Linked DNA regions of Homo sapiens: region 2 is linked to region 1. Evidence: promoter capture Hi-C in human tissues and cell types (Jung and others, 2019). All regions are on one chromosome and are shown on one strand. Each heading gives the region's core, a stretch centred on a gene start or on the middle of the fragment in contact. The rest is flanking DNA. Distances are from core to core; before and after follow the strand shown.

Region 1 (2,913 bases), core at 133-2,632:
CATCAGCACTGTACCTGCATACAGCATGTATTCAGTACACATTATTTGCATGAATAAGTAAACGACTACCATTCAAAAGTCCTCGTTACCTGACTCCCAACTTTCTTTCCCACTTCTCCGCAGTGCAATCCACTGTAAAAGCTACTTCTGACTCCACCAGAAGCATTCCCTACCCCCATCTTCAGGCTTTCAAATCCTGTGGCTTTCCCTGCCTGTAAAATTATCCCCATTTCTCTCAACCTGTTCAAATCCTGAGGGCTTGCCAAGACTCAAGTTTTCTTTCCTCCAGAATATCTTCCCATAGTGCCAGTTTACACATGTGTCGTTGCTCCACACTTTCAAAGCACTTCGCATTCTCTTTTTGGTAAGTATACATAAACTGCATCGTATTTTAACGTGTCCTGTGTGTAGACTTTTCTCTCCAACGTTAGTGCTAACTCCTAAGGATAGACTGTTCACATCCCACCCGTTCCATTCCCAGAGCGGCGCTAAGTACTGGGCTCGCACTGAAGCATGTGATTTTTCCCTAACATACCAGAATTTTCCTCTGAAAAGAATACTAGCTTCCCCCTTACTCCTGTTTCTCAAGTGATTCAATATGCCTTATGTGACTCTCACCAAGTTCTTTTCTAGGGGTTTGTTTTGTTTTGTTCTGTTTTGTTTGCCTACCCTCCCCCATTCTACTAAAAAATAGTTGAGTTCTCTGGATTCCTGTTCTTTCTCATTCCTAGAGGGACCTTGTGTACTCTGTGAGGGTTCCTTGCCTGCAGTTAGGGGCTCCTAGGCCTTTAAACTGTCATCCCACCACCCCCGACCCCCGACACCCGCGCCCCCCCCAACACACACCCAGTGAAGGCACTTGCGCTAGCTGTGACCTCACACACACCACTCCATAGCCTCACCTGGACCTATCACTTCATTCCCCTCAATCAATCAGGCGGCGTGCATTCCTACCCAAGAAGAAAGATCCCAGACCGCTGTATCTCTCCTTTCTGCCTGTCATTAACTACCCACGAGAGCTCTTTCTCTTTTTCCCTCCTTCTCTTCCTTAGAGACGGAACCTAGGCCCAAGACGGTGAATTGGCGCCGAGAAACCAGACACAGCCACCCAGCCAGCTCCAGCTCCAACGCCACGGTCTCTGCCCCCGCACCCACCCGCGTCCCTCCCAGGCAGCGACCGGAGCTCATGCTTCGGCCTGACCAGGACTCCCCATCCGGGGAGAGCCATCGCTCACTGACCCAGGAAGGTGTCAAACGAGGAAGTAGCAGCAGTAACAGGTACCGAGGCAGACAGCCTAGCGGACGCTATCGGCTCAGCGATCCATCCCTTCCCGACCTAAGCTCCGGCCTCACGGCTTCCTCTACCCAAGCGAACACAGAACAAGTCACGTGCCAGCCCAGCAGTCAGCTGACCGCGGCGCGCGCTGCTCCGCCTACGCCCGCGCCACTGCGCAGCCGCAGCCGCTGCCACTGCCGGGCCTTGGGAGAGGGGCGGGACTAGGAGGCTACGGGGCGGCAAGGGGACCCTATATTCGGGGCTGATCGCTGTTGTTCCAGAGTGGGTGGGGTTTTCCGCTTCTTCCAGTGTTGCAAGTGGCGTTTTGTCCACCACTTGTAAACGTCAGCGCCACTGCAGGTTTCTGCGGGTCAGAAATTGTCTCCAACCCCCTACAAGGGCTTCTCCACTTGGGGTTTTCTTCGTCAGCTGGGTTTTCTACCTAGTATACTGGCTAGTAGTTCATTTTAGCAGATTCACATTTTCCTGAAGTCCACTTAGACTTAATTTCATAAATGGTCCATGGAGCATTTACTGTGCGCCAAGCACTGCGCTCGTTCTTAGGATTGCCTACTGGAGAGAATCACTCCTTGCCACGAAAGCGCCTCATAGATAGTTGAAACCACATTAGATAGTGGGAAACCAAAGGTTTTAGGACAGAGGCATAGACAGGGGAAAGCATCTCCTTTGGAGAAAAATAGGTAACAAGCTCCTCCCAGGAACCCTGCTTATTTCATTAGCTTGGGGAGATAGATAGTAATGTCCTAATTTAGAACACAGAGTTTTAGAAGTAGTAGAAATTTTGAGATGTTCTAATTTAATCCTTTTAGATCTACAGATGAAGAAAGTGAGGGCACGGAGTTGTTCAGCGCAAGGGAATAGATACCAGGTGTTGAATCCAGGCTCTCCTACTTACTAGTTGTGTGACCTTACTCCTCTGAATTTCAGCCTGTTCACATGCAAAGTGGTGGTAATAATACCTTACACAGGTATTGTGAGGATTAAATGAAGCCTGTGGTTAGCACAGTGCCTGGTACATAGGAAACAACCAGTAAATGGTCGTCATTATTACTATGTATTATAGGACCCAGGTTTTCTGACCTATACTATGCCTTTTCTGCTGTGTCCCCCTACAGAAATTCACCACAGAATTTCTCAGAGCCTCAGTATTAGGTTGGACAGAAAGTAACAACCACCAGACTATCCCCAACCTGACGCTTTCACCAGTTTTGGATGAAGTTCATGCAATTACAATAACCAGTTCTATAACATGGCTTCAGAAACTTATCAGAATTCCAGAGGCTTTTATCTGCCATCACGAAATGAGCCTAAAGGCATTTTTTTTTTGGTTAGGTCCACTAAAACTTTCTGCCATGATGCAAATGTTATCCTGTGCTGTCTGTACAGTACCCACTAGCTACATGGAGCCATTGAGCACTTGAAATATGGTTAGTGTGACTTAGTAACTGAATTTTAAAATTTATTTCACTTTAATTAAAATTTAAATAGCCACATGAGACCAGTGACAACAGCCTTAGACAGTGCAGTTTTAAGGTCCATGCTTGAACTATCTTGGTTTCTTCGTGCTTGTGTGTGGTCCTGAGGCAGACTTTTTGTCTTGGATTCTTAATTTCTAA
Region 2 (2,913 bases), core at 195-2,694, 61 kb after region 1:
ATTTGACACTGGCGGCATGGCCACGTGGTTGATGGGCCCTGGGTCTACATTAGCTGACTGGTCTAAAGCCTCCCTGACCTCGTTCTAGTTCCCTTGCTAATAGCAGCCCACAAGATGGTCACATAAGTGCAGCTGCTGTGGTTTTGCTGCAGGTTTCTGTGATCGTTTTGTAGGTACAGGCATCTACCCGTGGGAGGTCCTGCAATTTATACAGGAAGATGTGCATGTGATAGTGTCTGCAGATCCCATACTGACTCATTTTTTCCTGTTTTCCTCTTCCTTCTGTTCTTGGTGTCAGAACCAAGCACTTGTTACTAAAGGCTGGGACTGCATAGCCCAGGGCCTTTAACTCTATCGCCACCAGCAGGTGGGTGTAGCCGCAGTATCAAGGGAGCTGGGGAGAGCAGGGGAGGGGAGGGAAGGAATCCATTGCTCCTTCTCAGGTTTCCTCAATCTAAGCGCAAATCCTAGGAGGAAAGGTCCACTCACTTCCTCCCACACATGCTGGTATTAGCGCTGACCCTTCTTCTCCAGCCAATCTGGAATGCGGTGGTTATGAGTGTGGGCCCTCAGTCAGACCACCTGATTCAAACCTCGCTTTGCAGGGTGACCTTGGTAAGATTGCCAAATTTAGCAAAAACAAACAAATGCAAACTGGATACCTATTTAAATCTGAATGGCAGATAAACAATGAATTTTAGTATGAGTACATCCCATGCAATATTTCTACTAAGAGATTATTTATTATTTATTACATTTATCTGGGTGTCTAGTATTTTACCTGGCAACCTAGACCTCAGGCAAGTTACTTTACCCCTCTAGGCCCACATTTCCTTATCCAGAACTTGAAAATAATTGCACTGCCTACCTGAAAGTGTTGTCTTGAGGATTAAATGGGATAATGTAGAATGTTAGGGAAGTGCCTGCAGGCACACATTTGATAAGTGTTAAGTGGATATTCAACATAGTATGGTGGATATTCAGTATAGTATAGTATAGTATAGTATAGTATAGTATAGTATAGTATAGTATAGTATAGTACAGCACAGCACAGCACAGCACAGCAAAGTACAGTACAGTACAGTACAGTACAGTACAGTATAGTATAGTATAGTATAGTATAGTATATGCATGGCCTTGGGAGGCACACAGACCAGGTTCAAACCCTCCTCTGTCACTTGCCTGCATTGTGACCTTGGGCAAGTTATTTAACTTCTCTGCGCCTCAGTAATCATCTTCTACAGAATGGGGATAATTGTAGTCTTTACCTTATGATGTTGAGTGGAGTAAATAAGACAATACATGGAAATCAGCACAATGCCTGGTAAATGTAATAAATAGTATTCTACGTATTAAATAGTGATAAGAACATTATATAAATTGTTTACCTCCTCCAAGACCCTCCTTACCCCCTCCATCCACCATCTTTGTTGCAAAGCTTCTCTGTCCTATTCCAGCGGGCACTGATTTTTCCTTCCTCTGAATTTCTGCAGTCCTTGCTGATCTTACCACCACAGGAACCTTGATTATACTCTGCCCTGCACTGTTTGTTAACTATCCCATTTATGGATGCCTTTTCTCATTGGTCAAAACCTGGAGGCCTTGGGCTTCTTCTCCAGCTCCTCCCTTAACTGCTGGGCACCACTATCAGTAGATATCTGTTGCCTAACTTATTAGTGCCATTGTCATGGATTTGTGGGCCAAGAGAAAAAGTCAAACCTACCTATCCAATGACCTACTTCTTGAAATCTACCGGCAGGGAAAAAAGGTCCTGTTTAAAATGTTACTGTAGGCTGGGTGTGGTGGCTCATGCCTGTAATCCCGGCACTTTGGGAGGCTGAGGCCGGTGGACCACCTGAGGTCAGGAGTTTGAGACCAGCCTGGCCAACATGGCAACACCCCATCTCTACTAAAAATACAAAAATTAGCCAGGTGTGGTGGAGGTGCGTGTAATCCCAGTTACTTGGGAGGCTGAGGCAGGAGAATTGCTTGAACCCAGGAGGCTGAGGTTGCAGTGAGCCGAGATCGCTCCACTACACTCCAGCCTGGGTGACAAAGCAAGACTCTGTCTCAAAAAAATAAATAAATAATAAAATAAAATGTCAGTGTAGGTTTTCCTGCGCATGTAGAACCCTGGAGAAATAATACCAAGTGTCAGGTTTGCCACTGTCCTGAGCATAGTCAAGCACAGCATTAAGGGGCATGCTGTCCCTGGCCTGTGTCTAGGTTTCTTTCATGGGTAGGCAACTTCTCTCGAATCCTGCTATTGGTGCTTGAAACATTAAGATACTCAGCACAGGGCTACTCTATCAATGACAATGCATAGGAAACATTGCCTGACTTTAACAAGATACAAAAACAGGATTTTTTTTTTTTTTTTTTTTTTGAGGAGACAAAGTCTCACTCTGTCGCCCAGGCTGGAGTGCAGTGGTGCAATCTCAACTCACTACAACCTCCGCCTCCTGGGTTCATGCCATTCTCCTGCCTCAGCCTCCCGAGTAGCTGGGACTACAGGCACGTGCCACCAAGCCCGGCTAATTTTTTGTATTTTTAATAGAGACGGGGTTTCTCAGTGTTAGCCAGGATGGTCTTGATCTCCTGACCTTGTGATCCACCTGCCTTGGCCTCCCAAAGTGTTGGGATTACAGGCGTGAGCCACCGTGCCTGGCCCAAAAACAGGATTTTTTTTGGTACATCTGAAACATGATAACAATAGTAAAATCGCTATACCAGCGACACTCAACTTTGGCTATTAGAATCACCTGGGGAGCTTAAAAAGCTACCAAGATGCTGATTGATTTGGCCTGTGTTGGGGACCTGCATATCAGGAGTTTTAAAACCTTCCCAGGTGATTCTCATGAGCAGCTTCTCTGCAGTATGACTGCTTTAAATGTAAACTGCATGGCTTGCCTG

What was found. The method cuts DNA at HindIII sites, captures the fragments that hold promoters and counts their contacts. A contact is called where the count stands out against the background at its distance.
Region 2: a fragment that was not itself captured here is called in contact with the fragment with the promoter of ATP6V1C1 in region 1 in 1 of the 25 tissues and cell types used here (IMR-90 fibroblasts).

What each region holds. Positions count from the first base shown.
Region 1 is chr8:103,019,552-103,022,464 of GRCh38, reverse strand. It overlaps ATP6V1C1 (ATPase H+ transporting V1 subunit C1), which reads right to left and starts at 1,382. Exons shown (of 13, transcript NM_001695.5): 1 at 1,240-1,382. RefSeq lists an enhancer at 943-1,152. The HindIII fragment of the contact is 15,691 bases long and covers 1-2,913 here.
Region 2 is chr8:102,959,015-102,961,927 of GRCh38, reverse strand. All of the region lies in intron 2 of MAILR (macrophage interferon regulatory lncRNA), which reads right to left. Among named protein-coding and RNA genes, the nearest start is that of ATP6V1C1, 61 kb to the left of the region's middle. RefSeq lists silencers at 68-117, 138-187. The HindIII fragment of the contact is 3,673 bases long and covers 1-2,913 here.